Linked DNA regions of Homo sapiens: region 1 is linked to region 2. Evidence: promoter capture Hi-C in human tissues and cell types (Jung and others, 2019). All regions are on one chromosome and are shown on one strand. The core of a region is centred on a gene start or on the middle of the fragment in contact, and the rest is flanking DNA. Distances in the headings are between cores, read along the strand shown.

The links. The method cuts DNA at HindIII sites, captures the fragments that hold promoters and counts their contacts. A contact is called where the count stands out against the background at its distance.
Region 1: a contact is called between a fragment that was not itself captured here and the fragment with the promoter of FGD2 in region 2, in 2 of the 25 tissues and cell types used here (aorta and spleen).

What each region holds. Positions count from the first base shown.
Region 1 is chr6:36,705,955-36,712,477 of GRCh38, reverse strand. The region is part of intron 2 of RAB44 (RAB44, member RAS oncogene family); the gene reads right to left. Among named protein-coding and RNA genes, the nearest start is that of RAB44, 11 kb to the right of the region's middle. The HindIII fragment of the contact is 5,627 bases long and covers 563-6,189 here.
Region 2 is chr6:37,004,405-37,009,861 of GRCh38, reverse strand. FGD2 (FYVE, RhoGEF and PH domain containing 2) reads right to left here and starts at 4,207. Exons shown (of 16, transcript NM_173558.4): 1 at 3,977-4,207; 2 at 797-1,028. The coding sequence starts at 4,044. RefSeq lists enhancers at 2,072-2,241, 4,062-4,191 and a silencer at 4,447-4,609. The HindIII fragment of the contact is 13,068 bases long and covers 4,097-5,457 here.

The DNA of each region.
Region 1 (6,523 bases), core at 2,127-4,626, 300 kb after region 2:
CAGGGGAATCACTTGAAACCGGGAGAAGGAGGTTGCAGTGAGCCGAGATCGCACCACTGCACTCTAGCCTGGGCAACAGAATGAGACTGTATCTCAAAGAAAAATAATTTCATATCCACTGGGACTGGGAAGGAGAACAGCTCTTTGAGATCTGGATTGGTGAGTTTTCATGTTTCATGTTGTTGTGTTTACTGTCATTCAGGCTGGAATGCAGTGGCACAATCTTGGCTCACTGCAACCTCCACCTCCCGAGTTCAACTAATTCTCCTGCCTCAGCCTCTTGAGTAGCTGGGATTACCTGTGCCTGCCACCACACCTGGCTAGTTTTTGTATTTTTAGTAGAGATGGGGTTTCACCATGTTGGCCAAGCTGGTCTCGAACCCCTGACCTCAGGTGATCCACCTGCCTCAGCCTCCCAAAGTACTGGGATTACAGGCATGAGCCACCACGCCCAGCCTGCTGTGTTTACTTTTGATCTGTGGCTGGAACTGTAGAAATGAAGCAAGACATTCTCTGTGTGTCTGTGTATCTATATGTCTGTAATAGACAGGCCTTTAACTCTTTTTTTTTTTTTTGAGATGGAGTCTTACTCTGTCACTCAAGCTGGAATGCAGTGGCGCAATCTTGGCTCACTGCAACCTCCACTTCCTGGGTTCAAGTGATTCTCCTGCCTCAGCCTCCCGAGTAGCTGGGATTACAGGAATGTACCACCACGCCCGAAAGGTCTTTAACTCTTATGTCAGTGTGAAATACTTTTGTACATCTGGAAGGTATTAATAACTTAGCGTACTATGTCTCTTAAAGGAGTTCTGTGTTGATTGGTTTATAGAGACAAATAAGTGATTATATAACTCTAATTCTCCTAAAAATAACAGAAAATAACTGAAATTTGAATGCTTTAAATGACTTAGACTTAAAACAATTCTTCTTAGAAATCGCTAGCTCAGAAAATTTTTCAGGAGCCAGGTCCATATAATTAACATGATTCTTTGAACAAATTAGACTGGTTTAATAATTGTTTTGATAAAACACATATAATAGCTATCTGTCTTTTCTGTGCTTTATGTTAAGTATAATTCAAGTATACATTCTGTTTTTCATAAGATCTATATTTGTTTTCTGTGAAGAAACGAGTTAATCTAGATTTCCTATACTTCTCATTTCGACTTTCGGATCAAATAAGTCAACTTTATCTTTACATATGTTTGAGATTATAAACATGTAAATTTGTGCCCCACTAAATTGATTAATTACTCTAACAAATAAATTTTGTATCAACAGTAATTATAACTTCCAGTGTGTCACCTTAAACACAGTTTCCAAGATTCTTAGGTAACTTTAAAATTTTGAATTAATATTGAAGTACATCAATTAATAAATAATTTTTGGCTATCTGGATAATTTCTAAAACAAATTTAATACTGAAACATTGATTGCTAGGCATATTTTTAAGTTGATATATTTTTTACTTCTTATTTTCACATGCTGGAAAGTAGCTATATCTTTAGGTAATGTTAAATGAATTCATTTTTTTCTGCTTTAAAAAGTTGTGCAGTCTGGGCGAGGTGACTCACGCCTGTAATCCTAGCACTTTGGGAGACCAAGGCAAGTGGATCACCTGAGGTCAGGAGTTCAAGACCAGCCTAGCCAACATGGTGAAACCCTGTCTCTACTAAAAACACAAAACTTAGCCACACGTGATGGTGCATGCCTGTAATCCCAGCTACTCTACTCAGGAGGCTGAGGCAGGAGAATCACTTGATCCCAGGAGGCGGAGGTTGCGGTGAGCCAAGATCATGCCACTGCACTCCAGCCTGGATGACAGAGTGAGACTCCCAGGAGGCGGAGGTTGCAGTGAGCCAAGATCATGCCACTGCACTCCAGCCTGGACGACAGAGTGAGACTCCATCTCAATTAAAAAAAAAAAAAAGTTGTACAAAAGAAAGCGGCAAAGACCCAGATATTTGTATGCCCATATTCATAGCAGCATTATTTACAATCACCAAAAGAATCAACCCAAGTGTTCACTGACAGATAAGAGGGTAGACAAAATGTGACGTATATGTACAACGGAATATCATTTGGTCTTTAAAAAGAACATTTGGACACATGCTACGATACAGATAAACCTTGAGGACATTCTGCTATGTGAAATACACCAGTAACTAAAAGACAAATACTGTATGATTCCATTTCTATGAGGTATCTAGAGTAATCAAAGTTATAGAGACAGAAAGTAGACTAGGGATAGCCAGGGGTTGGGGAGAGGGAAGTATGGGAGTTACTGTTCGATGGGTGCAGAATTTCAGTTTGGCAAGATGAAAGAAGCTTTGGAGATGGCTGGGGAAATGGTGGTACAACATCGTGAATGTACTTAATGCCACTGAATGGTACATTTAAAAATAGTTAAAATGATAAATTTTCTGTTATGCATTGCATATTTGACCACTTTTTTTAAAAGTTGTGTTAGGGATATGCAAGGCTGTAGAAAGTTGGCTTATGTGTATTTGTGAGCTTTGCTTGTCTGCTAAAATGCTTGTATAAGACAGTTCTCAATTATTTACCCTTAGTTCTTTCTGTGAAAGAGGTTAATTACACTGGTTAAAAGTGCAATTAATACAGGCTGGGCATGGTGGCTCACACCTGTAATCCCAGCACTTTGGGAGGCCTAGGCAGGTGGATCACTTGAGGTCAGGAGTTCGAGACCAGCTTGGCCAACATGGTGAAACCCTGTCTCTACTAAAAACAGAAAAAATCCTCCTGGCATGGTGGCGGGCGTCTGTAATTCCAGCTAATTGGGTGGCTGAGGCATGAGAATAGCTTGAACCCAGAAGGCGGAGGTTGCAGTGAGCTGAGATTGCGCCACTGCACTACAGCCCGGACAACAGAGCAAGACCCTGTCTCAAAACAACGGCAACAACAACAACAGTTCAATTAACTACAGATGCTTGAGGCTTTACTAGGAGCTATAGCGACAGACAAACAAAACTTTGTCTGCAAGGAAAATGGGATGCACTGTTGTGTGAAATTGTCTGGTTATTCTACAACATGAAAAAGGATAAAAAGGCAAAACTTGAATGGATATAGAATGTCGTAGAAAGTTTACTGAAAGAGAATTTTATTTGCCTTGATTTATAATGCCTGAGTCTGAAAATAAGCTATGAAATGTATTAACATTTTGCCAAATTTGGCCCAGTTTTAATGGGCTTAAAAATTGATGATAAATAGGCTTGGCACAGTGGCTCATGCCTGTAATCCCAGCACTTTGGGAGGCCGAGGCGGGTGGATCACCTGAGGTTAGGAGTTCAAGACCAGCCTGGTCAACATAGTGAAACCCGTCTCTACTAAAAATAAAAATAAAAAAAAATAGCCAGAGGTGGTGGCAGGCGCCTGTAATCCCAGCTACTCAGGAGGCTGAGGCAGGGGAATCGCTTGAACCCAGGAGGCAGAGGTTGCAGTGAGCCAAGATCACGCCATTGCACTCCAGCCTGGGCAACAAGAGTGAAACTGTCTCAAATGATAATAATAAAAATAAAAATAAATAAATAAAAATAAGTAAAAAGAAATAATAAAAACTCATGAAAATTTTATGGCCACATATTCTATTAAAGCAAAACTAGAATTTATCTTTATCTCTACTAAAATAATAAATTGGTCTTAGAGCTCTTAGCAAGGGTTAAAAAGAGGCTACTGTTTAGCTTCTGTGTAAGCCTCCCAGATAACAGAGATTCCCTATCTATCTCCCCAGAATCATTTCCTCTGCTTTGTTTTGAACTTATTATATCTTATTTTAAAAAACAAAAAGCAAAGGTATCTCCCTTATAAAAAAGCTATCTACTCTTGTAATCATATTACCTTCTTCTATGTTTATTTCAAAATATTTTATTTTATTATTACTTCGATTAAATAGATAACAAAGTAATATTTCTTGGTCTCCCATGACGTCTTAATCTAGTGCCTAAATCTTCTCTAACCGTTCTTTTGATTTTGCCTTCCCAAGATCAGATCCTAAATTTAGAAAAAAATACAATAAAAATTTTAAGATATCTTTCTCTATATGTTTTAAATACTTCAACACTATTACAAGATCATCATGGGAAGAGCAATCAAATCAGAAGAGATGTTCAGGCTTTCCTAGGCTAAATTTTCATAGGTAAAATGCTATTAATATCAATATTTCAGAAATTGCATGCTTTATGTGAAGGCCCTGGAGATTTTTCAATGATTTTGCTATTTATAATATGTTCTTTTTTTTTTTTCTTTCTTGAGACAGGTTCTCACTCTGCCTCCCAGGCTGGTGTGCAGTGGCGTGATCATGGCTCACTGCAGCCTTGACCTCCCAGGCTCAAGCAATCTTCCCACCTTAGCCTCCCAAGTAGCTGGGACTGCAGGTGCACACCACCACACCTGGCTAATTTTTTAAACCTTTTTATAGGATGGAATCTCTCCATATTGTCCAGACTGGTCTTGAATTTCTGGGCTCAAGTGATCCTCCTGCCTCAGCCTCCCAAAGTCCTGGTATTACAGGCAGTATGTTTTTATCTTCAGGGGAAAAACTGATCAAACCATTATGAAATAGTTGTGCATTGTACCCCAGGAGAGAATTCCACTGTCCTCCGTTCTGATATTATTAGGTAGTGTAATACATAACCACAGCCTTTCAGTGTCATTACTGGACATGTTTCTCCTTTCCAATGCCTGCCTGAAGCCTCTGCTATAAGCTGCAGGCCACAGACTGCATCTTCAACAAAGAAAAACACACTCAAAGTCTAGAGAAAAAGGACTGTACCAGGTTCGATGAACTATTTATGCTTCACTTGGGTGTAGGCTTCCAAGCTGACACTGGATGTCCTTTTGACTGAGCTAGTAGACTGAGGATTCCTACAACTCTTTTGAGTCCAAAAGCAGACAGCTTACCCAAGATCCGGCAGAACAATAATTGATTACATGGTGTTGATTGAACAGCCAAAGGAAATCTAGTTATGGCTCTTTGTGGGCAATATAGTTGATATTATTTTTTATTGTTCTACTTTAATAGATCTGTAAGGAAGCTCTTTCCTGGTCTTCTTGAGCTGTCTCTAACCCTCAGTTTAGTAGATTATACTTTTTTTTTTTTTTGAGACAGAGCCTCACTCTGCTGTCACCCAGGCTGGAGTGCAGTGGCTTGATCTCGGCTTACTGCAGCCTCCGCCTCCCACGTTGAAGTGATTTTCCTGCCTCAGCCTCCCAAGTAGCTAGGATTACAGACACACATTACAGCCTCCCAAGTAGCTAGGAATACAGAAAATAGCCACCACGCCTGGCTAATTTTTGTATTTTTAGTAGAGACGGGGTTTCACCATGTTGGTCAGGCTAGTCAGGAACTCCTAATCTCAGGTGATCTGCCCACCTCAGCCTCCCAAAATGCTGAGATTACAGGCGTGAGCCACCATGCCCTGCCAGATTATACTTTTGTAAACTGATATTCAACATTTCAAGTGGTATCTGAATCTCACTGACCCCCTCACAATTCAGAAACCAATAATTTTAAGCCCGGGCAACATGGAGAAACCCGCAACCCTGCCTCTATAAAAAATACAAAACATCAGCTGGGCATGGTGGCGCAGGCCTGTAGTCCCAGCTACTCAAGAGGCTGAGGCGAGAGGATCACTTGAACCCAGGAGGCGGAGGTTGCAATGAGCCAAGATCGCACCACTGCACTCCAGCCTAGGTGAAAGAGCAAGACCCTGTCTCAAAAAAAAAAAAAATTACTTTTACAGACTCTCCTTACTTTCTATGGCAATATAATTATTTGCACAGGTTCAACAGAATCTGTCCTCCTTTTTTATCAAGATATAATTGGATAAATCAATTGTGCAATCAAGGCCTTACCTGGAGTGTCTTTTTATGGGATGTCCTCATTTAATCAGGTGTGACAAGCCTACTATAAGGAATGCTCATGGAGCTACTTCCTACAAAACCCTACCAGGAAGCTGGCCTGGAACGACAGGGATTGCTTCCTGGCAGAAGAGGGACCTTAGAAAAATCAGGGACCTCAAGAAGACAGGAAGCCATTTAAATTTACAGGTGATGCAGGTGACATCTGGTGAAGAGAATATCTTGGGATTCCTTTTCTAGCCTTAGGACAGAAGTTGGGTAACCAACTCATCCTAGTTTGCCCAGGACTTTCCAATTTTAGCACTCGAAGTCCCACATCCCAGGTACCCCATTAGTCCTTGGAAAACTGGAGCAGTTGGTCACTCAATAGAACAAACTACAGATTTTTAAAAGTCCAACCAGCCTGGGCATGGCAGCTCACACCTGTAATCTCAGCAGGTGTGAAACCTGAGGTGGGGGGATTGCTTGAGGCCAGAAGTTAGACAACAGCTTGGGCAACATAGCAAGACCTCATCTTTATAAAAAATTTAAGAATCAGCCAGGCGTAGTGGCCTGTGCCTTTAGTCCTAGCTACTTGGGAGCCTGAGGTGAGAGAATCGCTTCAGCCCAGGAGCTTGAGGTTGCAGTGAGCTATGATTGCACCACT
Region 2 (5,457 bases), core at 2,958-5,457:
TTGTATTTTTAGTTGAGACAGTGTTTCCCTATGTTGGCCAGGCTGGTCTTGAACTCCTGACCTCAGGTGATCTGCCCACCTCGGCCTCCCAAAGTGCTGGGATTACAGGCGTGAGTTACTGCACCCGGCCAGCCGCTACATTTTTGATAGGTTTGTTCAGCAGCGATTGAAAACCAGGACGCATTACTATAACCACTATCCCCATTTTACAAATGAGGAAACTGGCACAAAGAGACTCAAGTGACTTGCCCAAGGACACACAGTTAGTAAGCAGACGTGCTGGGATGTGACTCCAGGGAATTTGGGTGCACAGTATCTGCATGCCAACCCTTGAACTCTGCAGATGAGAAAACTGCAAGCCACAGAAGAGATCAGACTGGGCTTTAGTCTAAGGGCAGGACAGTTCACACTCAGACCTCTATTTCTAGGTTGAGATTGTTGTCTCCTCCAGTGGGTAAACTGAGGCCCCACCTGAGAAGAGTATTAGGTTCACAAGATGGAGACTGTTCCAAGCTGTGTGGCCTTGAATAAGTTCCTTAAAACTGTGTTTCAACTTCCTTGTCCAAAAAACTCCTACACGAGGGACTCGCGAAGTAATCCAGCACGGTGCGTAGCAGGCAGTTAGTGAATCAAAGGCCATTAAGCATGGGGAAATCTAGCTCCCAGCTGACCTCTGATCACACCATACCCCCACCTGGGGAACTGCTGGCTCTGGCTAGGAAAGCATGTGTGGAGGGGAGGTCAGGGAGAGCTCCCCACCCCAGCACCCCACACCTCTACCTCAGCCCTCAGGCACCTGCGTCCCCGATCCTGAGAGGGTCACAGGCTGGCAAGATTTCCTCCAGGCTTCGCTGGACAGCTTGTTCTTCAGGGAGTTCAGGTACCTCCTGCTGACTGTCCTGGGCTCAGACCCCACGGCCTCCCCGACATTCGTCTTCTCCCGTGGTCCTGGGGACTCGGGAGGCCTGCACTCAGGGCGGTGATGCACGTCCTCTAGCCTCTGGCCTCTGGGTGCTGCTTCTGGGGTCCTGAGGAGAAGAGACAGACCTGAGGGCTTCCTCCCTGGAGAACAGGGAAAACAGCAGCAAGTCCCTGGTGTGGATTTGGGTTGCCTGGTGCAAATCCCCAGTGCAGGGGCCCCTGGGTGCCTGGCTTTCTTTGGGAACATGCTGAGTAAGACTTTCACTTCTCTCCCAACACATTCTTGGAGGGAACTCAGTGTTCAAAATGAGTCAGGGTGGACTATATTTTATTTTCTGGGGAACTGCATACTTCCTTGTTTAAAATGAAGCCACAGTGTCCAGGAATCCTTTCTGTATATAGGGGTTTTTGAGTGGTACCCCCTGGATTATCCTCACCTTTGGACCTCACCTCTGTTTTCAGTTTCCACATCAGTAACCTATACATCAAGGGAAGGTAGGAGCCACAGAACAATATAAAGTGAGAGCAGGCCTGCAAAAGCTGGGGCTTCTCAATGGGATCGACATCCTCCACACGTCCAGAAGCAGGGAGAGCCAGCCCAGCAGCAGATGCTCTGTTCTCCCAGGGACGGGCCTTCGTAGGTCACCTTTATTACCCTGTGTACTGGGTTCTGCAAGCCAGTCAAATTCCTTAGACAACAGGGCCCACCCTTGATGAATACACCCAACGTTGCCCTTGGTGTGGAAGGGCTTGTGATGACAGAACAGGGCAGGCATCCTTATGAGAAAGACAGGCCAGGAAATGGAAGGCCAAACAAATACGAAATCTCCAAAACTCCGTGAGAAAGGTTTTCATTACCCATATTTTGCACTCAAGGAAACTGAGGTCTGGACAGGATGAGTAACATGCGGCTCGGAAGTGGCAGAGGTGGGATTCAAATCAGGCGACTGCTTCCTGAGCCTTCACTCTAACCTGCCCCTCCCCATTTGAGTAAAGGAGAAACAGGTCCGCGGAGTCAAAGTGACTTGCCCCAAGTGACACAATTGGGTTTGTGGCAGCGAAAGCATTGGGACCTAGTGCTGTGTGGCTACTCCCAGGCTCTCCCACCCCTCCCTGGCACCCCAGTCCCTGGTTTCTCAGCCCATGGGTCTGCAGCTCATGGGCGTAGCTGGTTCTCAGGCTTTCTGTTCTACATTTGGTTTCAGGTTCTGCATTTCTGTTCTAGGGCCCCTGGCCAGCTTCTGTTTCCTCTTTGCCCCTCAGTTTCAGATCAGCTGAGGTGCTGGAGACCTCATAAGGAAGCCCAGGCCAAGGCAGTTGGTATGGGTCCCCTCACTCAGTAAGGAGTGGCTCTCACCCTCTTGATGCCTGCTGGGACCTAACTCCCGTCTAAGGGCTGCCCACTCCTGCCAGGGTTATTGCCTGGGCAGAGCACAGCATGCTGAGGGGCTCCACCCAGGTGTGCCTAGTCCACGTCAAGCATGTTGAGTGAGGTGGTACCATCCACCCACACCCAAGGGGGTGGTGGGCCAGGAAGGCGGCACCCAAGAGCTGTCTTTGGTGCTGAACAGGACGAGCTTGGCAAAGATCCCGGGAGAGGCAGGGGAGAATCACCCAGCTCAGGAAGTTGAAGACTTCTAGGTCTACATCTATGCCATCTCCACCCTGAAGCCTACAGGAAACATTGCCTGCCATGAGTGCCCTCAATACAGCATCCGGGCCATTCCTAGGACATCTACTGTCTATGACCTTGCATCATAGTTATTCGATGAGCTCAGCATCCAAATACTGAAACCCTTCTTCATCCTCTACAGTTCCTGTAGGATGCTGTGCTGTGCCACCCATGTCCCTCCTTCAGGAATGAGGCCTCCCCACACCATCCCCACCAGCTACTGGTAGTACTGGGGGCTGCCGGGTAATTTATTGGCTGAGTCCCTCTCTGGGAATCACTCTCTGGAAGAGAGAGCTGCCTCACCCAGAGTCTCTTGTCCAGTCCACATGGAGATACAAATACCCAGCCCTCTTCCTCAGCTGGAACAACCGAGAGGCATCCCAGCTCCAGAGCTCCCTGGGACAGGCTGAGGCCTCTGTGGCAGGTGCACTGCAGTTCAGCATCTCCCCCTGCCCGGCCCTGCTTCCCTCACACCCACAGCTGTTGTTCCCAAAAGCTCTCCCTGATAAATCACCTGAGGCAAACCTCTGTCTGAGTCTATTTCCAGAAAACCCTACCTGGGACAGCCCCTAACACAGTCCTGAGCTTAAGAAATGCCTGCAGAATGGATTGATGCCACACATAACACACAACACACACATACACACACGCGCACACACACAAACACACATGCTCCCAGGGCTACCAATGACTCCACGCATCTGGCCCAGCCTTTTCCCTCCAGACAGACGCCCCAGCATTGCCCCAGATACTTAAAGCACTTGGCATCCTCACCTCTCTGTGTCTCCATTTCCTCATCTATAAGACGGGAACAGAAACAGAATCTACCCCTATTAGGCTGTTCGATGACTAAATTAAATAAGTAAGGACATGAACTTAGAGTAGGGAGTACCCCATCAGGATGCTGCCCGTACATCCTGGTTTGCCTCATACGGTCCCAGCTTTACCTGTAATGCCTCCCCCACAACCACCACATTTTATTTGGCATTTACTTTCAGTTTCAATTGTGTGCTGAATGATAAATTATATGGTTATCCTAATCATAGGGCGTAAATTCTTGGTGAGTATCAGCTACCTTTTCTGAGAGGTGCTGGCAGGCACTGGGTGGGGTCCTGTGCCCACACACAGGCTTTGGTCTGCCCATGCTTGCTCGTAACCACACCTGTCTGGACTCTCCCAACACACACTGGCACTCTCACCCCTGCCTGGCTCCTGGTGTCCCACCGACACTCTCCCATGCTCCAAGGAATCCGTGACCGAGGAACGCGGGGCTGCCCCTGCAGGAGGAGGGTCCGGGGCAGGGCCCAGGGAGAGAGCTGCCAGAAAGGCTGGAGGGTGGCTGCCAGCCCACCATGGTGACCCTCCCACCCCAGCTGCCCATACCTGCTATTCTCAAACACAGTGACCAGGTTGGACACAGATGCCAGCTTCTCCTCACTTGCCCCCTTCATCCTGCCGGTTTCCGGGGTGGATCTCAGCTACCCTCGAAGCAGAGAGAGAGGCCTCCAGCCAGCACACTCAGCCACGCTGGCCTGGGACAGATAGGCTAAATCACCCATGAATCTGTTCTGATCTTTCTTGAGGGCTCAGAAGGTCGGCTCTTGGCTTCAGAGTGAAGAAAGAGGAAGTGGTCCCAGAGCCACAGCCCTGCAGGGGAAAGGCCAGCACTCCCGCAGTGGGAGGAGCCTGCTCGGGCCCCACCTCTCCCTCAGGGGGGCTGACCTTTCACACCTGTAGACCCCCATTCCAGAAGCCACCTAAGAGGTGGCAACAGGGCCCAGAGGTAGCTTCTGGAGCCCAGTCTGGGCTGGTGCAGTGGTTTGCACCTCTAATTCCAGTGCTTTGGGAGGCCGAAGCAGGAGGATTGCTTGAGCCCAGGAGTTCAAGACCAACCTGGGCAACATAGTGAGACACCGTCTCTTAAAAAAAAAAAAAAAAAAAAAGGCCACCCGGAGCCAGACCCTTGGCTGGTTTCTTGGCCTAGTGGTTCCAGCCAACCACACTTTCTCCTTCAGAAGGTCCAGTGGCTTTTACTTGGCCTCTTTCCCAGCACCTTCTTTTCTGCATCTGCCCCTGCTCACAGCTGTAAGGAAATAATGTCTTTTTTATTCTTTAGAGACAGAGTGCGGTGGTGGGATCTCGGCTCACTGCACCCTCTGCCTCCCGGTTCAAGCGATTCTCCTGCCTCAGCCTCCTGAGTAGCCGGGATTACAGGGCCTGCCACCACGCCCTGCTAATTATTTGTATTTTTAGTAGAGATGGGGTTTCACCATGTTGCTCAGGCTGGTCTTGAACTCCTGGCCTCAGGTGATCCTCCTGCCTCGGCCTCCCAAAATTCTGGGATTACAGATGTGAGCCACTGTGCCTGGCCAGGAAACAGCATGTTTTATTTAAAATAATCACAAACCTGGTAAGGGTGGCAGGGAGTACTGTGATGTTCCCACCTCCCCACTGGGGTTCTCTCATTTTAGTTGTTGCTGTCATCACCTCATTGCCCCAAGGGAGGGCAGTTTCCTCCCTGAAACTCAGAGGATAATAATAGCTAACATGCACTCTTTTTCATGCTTATGAGTATTTTCTTATTAATCCTATAACAACCTCATGAGGTAGGTACTATTCCTATCCCCACTTTACATAGGAAGAAACAGAATCAGAGAGGTTAAGTAACTTGCCCAAGGTCACCCAGGAAGAATACAAGAGAAGTTGGATTTCCAAAGCAAAAGTGGGTGTCCTACAGTTCCAGCAAAGGTTCGTTGGGAGCCTGGATGACCATGTTCTTGCTGCTCCATCCCCAGGCCTCCCTGATCCCAGGACACTGGGTTGTCTTTGCCTGAGGCCTCCTTTACCACCTGGTCTCCCGGCCC